Linked DNA regions of Homo sapiens: all the other regions are linked to region 2. The links are contacts of gene promoters, found by promoter capture Hi-C in human tissues and cell types (Jung and others, 2019). All regions are on one chromosome and are shown on one strand. The core of a region is centred on a gene start or on the middle of the fragment in contact, and the rest is flanking DNA. Distances in the headings are between cores, read along the strand shown.

Evidence for each region. The method cuts DNA at HindIII sites, captures the fragments that hold promoters and counts their contacts. A contact is called where the count stands out against the background at its distance.
Region 1: a contact is called between a fragment that was not itself captured here and the fragment with the promoter of C1QTNF3 in region 2, in 1 of the 25 tissues and cell types used here (lymphoblastoid cells).
Region 3: a contact is called between a fragment that was not itself captured here and the fragment with the promoter of C1QTNF3 in region 2, in 2 of the 25 tissues and cell types used here (dorsolateral prefrontal cortex and hippocampus).

Annotation. Positions count from the first base shown.
Region 1 is chr5:33,498,028-33,501,290 of GRCh38, reverse strand. No RefSeq gene overlaps it. Among named protein-coding and RNA genes, the nearest start is that of TARS1, 59 kb to the right of the region's middle. The HindIII fragment of the contact is 3,492 bases long and covers 1-3,194 here.
Region 2 is chr5:34,041,925-34,045,330 of GRCh38, reverse strand. It overlaps C1QTNF3 (C1q and TNF related 3), which reads left to right and starts at 2,118. Exons shown (of 6, transcript NM_181435.6): 1 at 2,118-2,508. The coding sequence starts at 2,206. The region is part of intron 1 of C1QTNF3-AMACR (C1QTNF3-AMACR readthrough (NMD candidate)); the gene reads left to right. The HindIII fragment of the contact is 5,092 bases long and covers 1-3,406 here.
Region 3 is chr5:33,447,295-33,450,704 of GRCh38, reverse strand. TARS1 (threonyl-tRNA synthetase 1) reads right to left here. Exons shown (of 19, transcript NM_152295.5): 3 at 1,974-2,164. Among named protein-coding and RNA genes, the nearest start is that of TARS1, 8.0 kb to the right of the region's middle. RefSeq lists enhancers at 1,907-2,420, 2,421-2,934. The HindIII fragment of the contact is 7,416 bases long and covers 1-3,410 here.

The DNA of each region.
Region 1 (3,263 bases), core at 199-2,698, 540 kb after region 2:
CAAGGCGTTCCAGCCAACACCATGTGGAACAGAGACCAGCATGCCCTACCCAGTCCTGCCCACGTGGCAGCATCCCACTAACAAGGATCTGGGTTTCGCTGTTTTCAACCACCAAGTTTTGGGGTAGTTTGCAATGTAGCAATAAATAGCATACATTTAAAACATGAAACTTTGAAAGAAACAAATACGAAACTTGTCAATTAACACAAAAAATATGTCCGGGGAATAAAACCCAACTTCTGGATCTACCGTCTACTCTCAGGAGTGAATCATGTTTAATTGGATCCAAAGAAAGTTATTGGTTTTAGAAAAGCAGAGGACTCAGCATCCAGCTTACAGGAAATTAATAAGAAAGTGATTAGTGAAAATTGGAAACAGGTAGATAGAGAATAATCATTCCAGAAATTAGAGTAACCCAGTGGTTTTCAATCCTACCAATAAACCAGAATCATCTGGGGCCCTTTCAAAAGTGCAGATTTCTGGGTCCCATGCTTTAAGATCCTGACTTAAATAATCTGGGGTGGATCCAGAATAGCATTCTGAAATACTGCTGGGGTTTATAGGGGACTATGAAGAATAAAAATAAGCCTGCAGCTGAAAGGCCAATGGTTAATTATAATATATTATGTATTTCAAATAGCAAAAAGAGGATTTTAAGGACTCATCACAAAGAAATGATAAATACTTGAAGTGATGGATGTGCTAATTACCTTGATTTGATCATTCTGGCACTGGTTTCCAGTTTCTTGTTTCCTGTTGGCCTGGGGCCCCAGCTTTTTGTCTTTCAACTGTCCTGGATTTCTGGTGCCAGGATTTGACCTCACTGATGTGGACTTGCTGCCTTGACCCACAGAACCTCCATCCCACATGGACTCCCTGCTCTGCACTCTCAGAACTGGCCTTCCTGGACCTGACCTCTGTCTTGCCTTACTTAGGTACCTACTGTGGATACTTCCTTCCAAGAAGTATATATTTATGATGTATATCAGATTGTACACCATAAATACACACAATTATTATTTGTCAATTAAAAATCAAACTTTTTTAAAATAAAAAATGGGTTTTTTAATTTTTTTTTTTTTTTTTTTTTTTTAGAGACAGGATATCTGTTGCCTAGGCTGAAATGCGATGGTGCAACCGTAGCTCACTGTTACCTCAAACTCTAGGGCTCAAGTGATCCTCCTGCTTCAGCCTCCAGAATAGCTGGGACTACAAGTGTGCACTTGCACAGCTAATATTTTATTTTTATAGAGAGGGGGTGCTGTGAGCCACCATGACTGGCCCCTAAAAATGTGTTTCAAACTTGCAAATATATGGCTTTTTGTTTGTTTGTTTGATTTTCTATCTAAATTGCATTGTTATCTGAGAATACAATGTGTAATTGGACTAGGGCTAGAAATTTGGGCTAGGGCTTTATCTGTCATTTTGTTGCATAACAAAGAATGAATATTTTACAATATAAAAAGCTTATATAAAGTAATGAGACAAAATGCTTTTCTTAACGTGAGAAAAGGACAGGAACTAGTAGTTATGGCCTCAAACTAGCCTATAAACATTAAAAAATCCAAATTAAAAACAATACACTGTTTTATCGACAAAATTTGCTAATGTTTATAAAATTCTAACACAGGAACGTTGTGTTAGAATGGCCAAAATACCAAAGAATAAGAATTCACAAACAGTGATGATAGAATTATCAATTAGTACCGTATTTCAGAAAAGCAGTGGGGCCCTATATATCAAAGAATGTTCAAAATGTGTATGCCCTTTGACTCAGTAGTTTCACTTTTAAACACTTATTCTCTCAAAATAATAGATACCAACAAAAGATACATATATAATACCTTTATTGGGATAGAAATGGAATACTAAAGTCATAAAAAGGAGGAGGAAGTGTATACTCTACCCCAAAAGGCTAATATAGTAAATGTGAGTGATGTCAATTCTATCTGTGCCAATCTAGAAAAGAGTAATACAATGTGTTGCATAACCCTTGGAATGGGAAATAAGGAAATCAATTTTTTAGAATGAGTTTAAAATAAACTCATCATGTGGTGCCTTATATAGGACACGCTGTAGGTCATTTTAATCAATAAACTTAATGGTTTTACAGCAAATCTGATCCTCACACTGTCTAAAAAATAAATTAATAATGAGTAGGAGGGGACTAAATTAATGTCACATAAATATATAGCTTTATTATAATTAATGTAATATACAGATCTTACAATTCAACAAAAAGTAAATGAATAACATATCCCTAAGACAATCTGGACTAAATGTCATTTTCCTCTGCTTAGCTGTTGAAAGTAATGAAATAATCGATAATTCAAGGTTATTTTCCAACTGGAATATTTTCGGAGCAGTTATCATCCATTTTGCCACTCAGCTGTAGAAAAAGTCCAGCAATGTTCCTGTGGAACAGTGGATTCTGAACGGGGTAATTTCCTGACACACCTGCCAGAATGAATTAGCTACCTATTGCACAGCCAGGCACCTGCACGCCATGATCTGTTGCATGGAGCTATTTAAATTCTGGTGAATGTGAAGGAAGCCAAATTATTTCCCCCAAAATACTGAGGATTGTTAAGTTAAACACACTGAATGAACTTAGGGAAATGCTCTGCCCCAGCCTCTGTTTGCCCAATGGCAGGACATCAACTCTTCCTTACTGGAGACAGCTCTGGCTCATCAGCCCAGAGCAGGTACCAGCAGGCACCAGAGGAATCTGGGAACAGATTTTACTATCTTCCCACATTTCCCCACCATTTATTTATTTATTTATTTGAGACAGAGTCTCACTCTGTCACCCAAGCTGGAGTGTGGTGGCACAATCTCGGCTCACTGCAACCTCTGCCTCCCAGGTTCAAGCGATTCTCCTGCCTCAGCCTCCCAAGTAGCTGAGACTACAGGCATGCACCACCACATCCAGCTAATTTTTTGTATTTTTAGTAGAGATGGGGTTTCACTATGATGGCCAGGCTGGTCTCAAACTCCTGACCTCAGGTGATCCACCCAACTCGGCCTCCCAAAGTGCTGGGATTACAGACATGAGCCACTGCTGCCCAGCCCCCACCCTTTAAAAGACTAGAACTGAGCCAAGCACAGTGGCTCATGCCTGTAATCCCAGCACTTTAGGAGGCTGAGGCCGGGAGATCCCTTGAGGCCATGAGTTGGAGAACCACCTGGGCAACATAAAAAGACCCTGTCTCTACAAAAATTTAAAAATTAACCAGATGTGGTGGTGCACACCTGTAGTCCTA
Region 2 (3,406 bases), core at 869-3,368:
ATATTTTTAGAAGCTCCTTGGTTTAATATGCAGCCAGGGTTGAGAACCACTAGAATAGATGACAGGATTGAAAACACGAATGGAAAGTCTCAATGCGGTAGAAAGTCAGAGGCTGATTTATAGTTACTTAGCAGTATGGCCCACTTCGTGGGGGATGCATGATGGTGAGAGCCAGAGACAGCTCTTGGAAAACCTGTGAATTGGGTGACCTAGATTTCAGAGCCACTGCTTGCTTTGTGGTCTCCCTGTGACATTTTCTCTGGGCCTCCCTGAGGAGGGAACACCCCCACTGAGACACTGCTCTGGGCTTTCCTTCCCACAGCAAAAGCCCATCCACTTGCTCACCCTCCAAACACAGGCGCCATCCTTTCCCCAGCTCCAGCTCCAGGTCTGGGAAGAAAATCCTCAGTTACTAAGAATAACAGTTTGACACACTTCCCTTCCCAGGGACATCTACCTTTTAATGGTGGACATGACAGAACTCAAGGAATCCTCCAGTGAGGAAGGTTTAGATGCTCAAGGGTAGACTTGTAGCACAGAGATGGCTGAATTTTTATGCCCTACTAGGTGGGAACTGACTGCTTGGACTGAACATGACTCCCAAGGCCCCTGAACTGTGGCCTGGAGAGCTTTTAGTTCACAGAGTAACTCTCTCCCTCCGTCCCCAGCACCAAACCCTTTCCATGTATAAGTGTGGACTCTGGAAGCGGCTGTTCTGGTAGCTGCAGGAGGGGCCAGGCTAGTTTTGACAGTTCTGGCCACTTCCAGAGATGGCTCTTGGTTCTCAGGCCCTTGGCTGAGCAATGGGGGCAGCTGTCAACAGCTCTCTCTCCTCTCCCCTTTCCCCAGCTGCTCTGACTCTTCATCAGCAGGCTGAGCTTCTCCAAGCCTCAGTTTCCCACAGTGCCTCCTCGCCCCCTTCTCATCAGACGCTTGCCACCCATGCTATTTACGGTCCTGGGTCTCTCCAGTTTTCATGAGAGAAGGCCAGTAACATTTTCTTAAGCGAGTGAATGAGTAATATAAATAAAATCATATGTAAATAGAAGCAATTTTTGATGACAAAACTGTTTAAATTCTCTTAATTTATTATCCTGAAGCAATTAGGAATGTCCATTTTCTTTTTGGCTGAATTAATAAAAGTATAGCAACTAAAGCAAAGACATGAGAATCCTCTTAATCTGGATACGCTGTGTTTGAAATAACGTGTTTGGTGCTTTCCACTTCTTCAGTTTTGTTATTTATTTATTTTTTAAGTAGAGACAGGGTCTCACTAAGTTGCCCAGGCTGGCCTCGAATTTCTGGGCTCAAGGGATCTACCTGTCTTGGGCTCTCAAGGTGCTGGGATTACAGGCATGAGCCACTGTGCCCGGCCCCGTTTCTATTTTAATCAAGAATATGTCAAAAGAAAGAGGAGCCAGAGACAGCCTTCTCTTAACACAAAGCAGGGTGTTGTATCTTCATCTGACAATAAGTGACTTAGTTAACTTTGATTTAATTTTGGCTTTTGGGAAGTCATGGGGAAAAGAAGTAAAGCTGAGGGTGGCGAAATACCTTTGCTAAACCCAGAGACACTGCACCTGAATCCTGCTCAGTGTTTTGTAGGCAACCAACTGCCTTCTGCCACTGGTATCCGGAAGGGGAAATGAGTTACCTTAAGTGGGCCAAAGTGGGGAAATACTAACAGTACAGCTAGAAACCAAGAGCTGTCGTGAAAGCCCTGAATGGGTTCCCACTGCTATTTCAGACAAAACTGATGCAGTTAAGCCTGAATTTCCTGGCAAGCACAAGGGTAGATTTTTCCAAAAGGCTTTTTAGACTGCAAATACACAGCCTTTCCATGTCTAATCACAAAAGCAAACTGCTGGACACATGCTCTCTGTTCCCAGCTGGTTGTGTATGTTTTCTTCACACTTCAACAGAAACGTGCCAAGGTGTGACATTTATGAATTTCGCCAACTGGGAACTGTGCACACAAATCGTTCTTGCTTGTGGTGTGGGAAAATGATGAATGGGGGCTGTTCTGCCTGGGGAGGAGGGCTGCTGTCACTCTGGCATGCCTACAGCCTTATTTATTACACACCAAAGTATAAAACCACTCCGCCGCTGCAGCTCTCAGCTCCAGTCCTGGCATCTGCCCGAGGAGACCACGCTCCTGGAGCTCTGCTGTCTTCTCAGGGAGACTCTGAGGCTCTGTTGAGAATCATGCTTTGGAGGCAGCTCATCTATTGGCAACTGCTGGCTTTGTTTTTCCTCCCTTTTTGCCTGTGTCAAGATGAATACATGGAGGTGAGCGGAAGAACTAATAAAGTGGTGGCAAGAATAGTGCAAAGCCACCAGCAGACTGGCCGTAGCGGCTCCAGGAGGGAGAAAGTGAGAGAGCGGAGCCATCCTAAAACTGGGACTGTGGATAATAACACTTCTACAGACCTAAAATCCCTGAGACCAGATGAGCTACCGCACCCCGAGGTAGATGACCTAGCCCAGATCACCACATTCTGGGGCCAGGTACTCAGAATTCTCTTCTAAGGATTTTTGTGAAAGCTTAATGAGTGTTGTTGTTGTTGTTTTGTTGTTGTTCTTTTTTTGGCTAAGATTCTTAGAATCAATGAATGCTTTCGAGAAGTTCGCTAAGCTGCTTGTGAATCTCTTTCTGGATTGCTCTTGGGTACAAGAGAGACTGTCGGTCTCTGTTAGAAAATCAGCAGAGGCAGCAATGATGTGATGGGATAGTGGCCGTAGCATCACCCCATCAGAAAGGGGAACCTGGCCAGCCAGCTTCCTGCTATGCTGGGACTTGATTTCCTTCTTGCTCTGTTGGTCCGGAAAGGAGTGCTGACCCATGCAGACAGATCGGTCACTGTAGACAATCATTTGTTGTTCTTAAGAGAATTGGGCTTTCTTCATCCCTTCCGGCAGGGAGAAGCTGCCCTTTGAGTTTGTCAAAAGCAATCAAAGTTTTTTTACTTTGATTTGTGAGTATACTGTGACATTTCATGGCAGTCTTGTTTATTTGATTTATAGCATTCTAGATTGTTAAGCCTCTCTGTTCAGCCTGTTTTAAAAAGAATTAAAGAGTTAAATAAAAAATAAACTGTTTGAAATGCATACCTTATAGCATGATTTGATGCCTGATAATCACAGAGGACTTGATCTATTTCTCAGGTTATAAATTCAGCTCTAAGGAAATATCTTTAACTCTTGGTAGTATGAGAGTGAGTTAAGATTTCAGTATAGTGAATTGCAAATTGGTGAAACTCAATGTAATTTAAAATATTAAGTACAGGAAGAGACATATTTTGAATTACCCTCTAGACATCTAGTATGCTGAAAACTGTCAGAGGGGGCAAGAAGAGTTACTTTGAGTTATATGATATTTGAACATACAGGTTTTTACTACAAGATT
Region 3 (3,410 bases), core at 400-2,899, 590 kb after region 2:
TAAATTTTAATGACACGGCTACAATCTCATTGTGTGACAACAGAGGAATCTATTAATCAACCTGACCTTCAAAATTATCTCTAAAATGAAAGGTTGAACTGATACGTAAAGGTCTATCCAGTTCTCTATGCTCTCACATAGAAACTTGCATGGTATTACAACTTTTTACTTCCTTTGGAGTAAGGTAGAAGAACTTGTAGGTAGAAGCACTTGTCAAATGAATGGAAACACTCCATTCACTTTGTAAAAAGTACTAACTAATGTCTGTGGTACAGTAGATGCTCATGGCTCATAGGCCTAACTGGTTCTGCTTCTACTAGTTGTATAATACGCTTACCAAGAATCAGCCACGTTGGTTCCCCAAACTGTTTTTGTGCTTGTTCTTTTACGTGTTTGGTTCAACAATACAAAATTGATGATAATCAACCACATGACAATTCATATGGTGATTCCAAATGGTTCAATTCAATACATAACACTTATAAATAAACTTCAAAAATATATAATTATAAAATAACACAATAAGGGAATTATGGATTCTATGAAAACCAAGTTGAATGTTTGAGAAGGCTTGATAAATCCAAGTCACACACACAAAAACACTGTCAAGTTAGGTGTAACTCTACAACTACATGAAAATCTGCAAGGATTCTGTGCTCAGACTACTTCTCGTATGTGTTAAGATAATGTAAGAACTCTAATTAGCACTCGCTATCCCCCAAACCTTGCCATACATATATATATTCACTGTTTTATGTATGTATATAAAGTTAGTGAATACATACATATTCACATATTTTAAGTTGAAGTGTTTAAGACCAAGATTGGCAAGCTTTTTCTGTAAAAGGCCACACAAATATTTTACACTTTGCAGGCCAAACATGGTCTCTGTTGTATATTCTTAGTTGTTTTATTTTTTCCAACTATTTAAAAATTTAAGAATCATTTTTGGCTGGGCGCGGTGGGTCACGCCTGTAATCCCAGCACTTTGGGAGGCCGAGGCGGACGGATCACAAGGTCAGGAGATCGAGACCATCCTGGCTAGCACGGTGAAACCCCGTCTCTACTAAAAATACAAAAAATTAGCCGGGCGTGGTGGCGGGCACCTGTAGTCCCAGCTACTCGGGAGGCTGAGGCAGGAGAATGGCGTGAACCTGGGAGGTGGAGCTTGCAGTGAGCCAAGATCGCGCCACTGCACTCTAGCCTCCTGGGCAACAGAGCAAGACTCTGTCTCAAAAAAAAAAAAAAAAAAAAAAAAAGAAAGAAAAAAAGAATCATTTTTATTTTTCGCTTTCAGGACATACACAAACAGATTATGACTAGAGTTTCCCAATACCCAGTTTAAGATATATATATATACACGTGTATATATACGCGTATATATATACACATATATATGTTTTACCAACTCTTATTTTGATAAACTGACCAATTATTGATCCCAATCATATCAGATTAAGAAAGCCTCTCCCCTATTACAAAATATGCATCTAATTCTCAGTTAATTGAAATAACTTCTTCCCACCCCAATAAAAGTTTTAAGACTAGGAATAGTCTTTCATTGAATTTATAAAAATAGTACATTTTTTTCATGTGTTATATGAAGTTTCTTAACCTTTCCATGTGAGATTATGTAGCTTCATTTTTAACTTCAAAACCAAGACATTTAAGTCGAAATAGGTAAACACTGTCTAGTCGGTTTTGTAACATTTATAATCATAGTAAGACTAAAAATATACAATGCCCCAAAAGATAAGACCAAAGTAAACTCTTTCAGAAATTAACTTTGAATTTTGACTACAAAGCTCTGTATCATTTTGATTTTTAAAAAATCTCAAGTAGGCAAAATTAAACAGATTAAAAACACTGAATGGTAACATAAAAATATTATAAGAATAAAACATGGCAAGATAATAAAAGGAAGTTTAGTTAGACCACAAACTATGGAAGGTCATGATGGGTGTAGCTTATACCTAATTCCACAGGCAATTTGATATGGTGTAGTTTTCCAAGATTCCGCATCAACCTGTTTACCATCAGGCAAAGTGACTTTAATTGGCTTGCTATCTTTTTCTGCCTTTTCTGCCAGAATGGAATCATGTTCTGCTTTTAGTATATTATACATCTCAAGACGTGTGTAAATATATTCAGGCCAAGGATTCAACTGCAAGACAACAAACAAATCAGGAAATAAATGATCAGTAAATATTGCTTTCCTATTTAGAAATGGGAAAGAAATAATAAAAACAATACAGAAACCCAGGACTATTGATTCAATGTGGTAAATAAACACTGCCAAAATCACCCGGCATTACCTCAATTTGGTTCTAAATGAAGGTAAAAGAAGGAATTAAATGCCCTATTCTTATGCTGAATCGACAATTACCATTTTGCTACTATTTACAGCAAGTGGTCTTTTCTCTTTTAAGATGTCTTCTTAGGATCTTTTCTAACTAAATTATTTTACAAATAGAGCTATAAACAATACTGGAAATAAAAACAATAAACTGGCTTTTCTATTTTGTTTCATTCATGTCCAGGTGATGGTCTGTGCAGCGGGTCAGCCTATATGTCCACTCACAACCAATCACAAATTTCTTTGACTTAAGGTCTCCCCTTCAAGGAAAGTATTTACTGAATTCAAAGATGCCATGATCAGCTTGGAGTATGTAATTAGCAACTATATAAAACAACACACTACTACTTTCTATAGCAGATAAAATTAACAAAAATATTCTATATAAAACACCCACTTAGGTTTCTAGAGGTTTGGCAAAGAAAGAAAAAGAGACAGCAATCAGAGAGCTGACTTCTTCTACTGTCACTCTATAATCTATGGAACATTTCAAAAAGGCAGTGAATCTGTGGTAACAAAACAGTCAAACTAACATCTACAGCATTCATCATCTTCAAATTACATGAACATTAACACTTCATACAAAAGTGAAGAGGAGATTGCTTAATTTTGCCATGACTTTCTATCTTCAAATGAATTTCAATCTATCAGATATAAAATGACTTACTGCAATACAGATTTTAACATTTATTCAATGTTGATAATGCTACCAACGTCTCCATACATATGTCTCCATATATATCAACATACCACAATTTGAAAGGAGTACAAGGGAATATCTAATCCTTAAGAAACTGACTGGGGCAGGGCATGGTGGTTCATTCCTGTAATCCCAGCACTTAGGGAGGCCAAGGCAGATGGATCACTTGAGGCCAGGAGTTCGATACCACCCTGGCCAACATGGCAAAATCCTATCTCTACTAAAAATACAAAAATTAGCCAGGTGTGGTGGCGCACACCTGTAGTCCCAGCTACTTGTGGGGCTGAGGCATAAGAATTGCTTGAACCTGGGAGGTGGAGGTTGCAGTGAGCCAAGATTGGGCCACTGCACTCC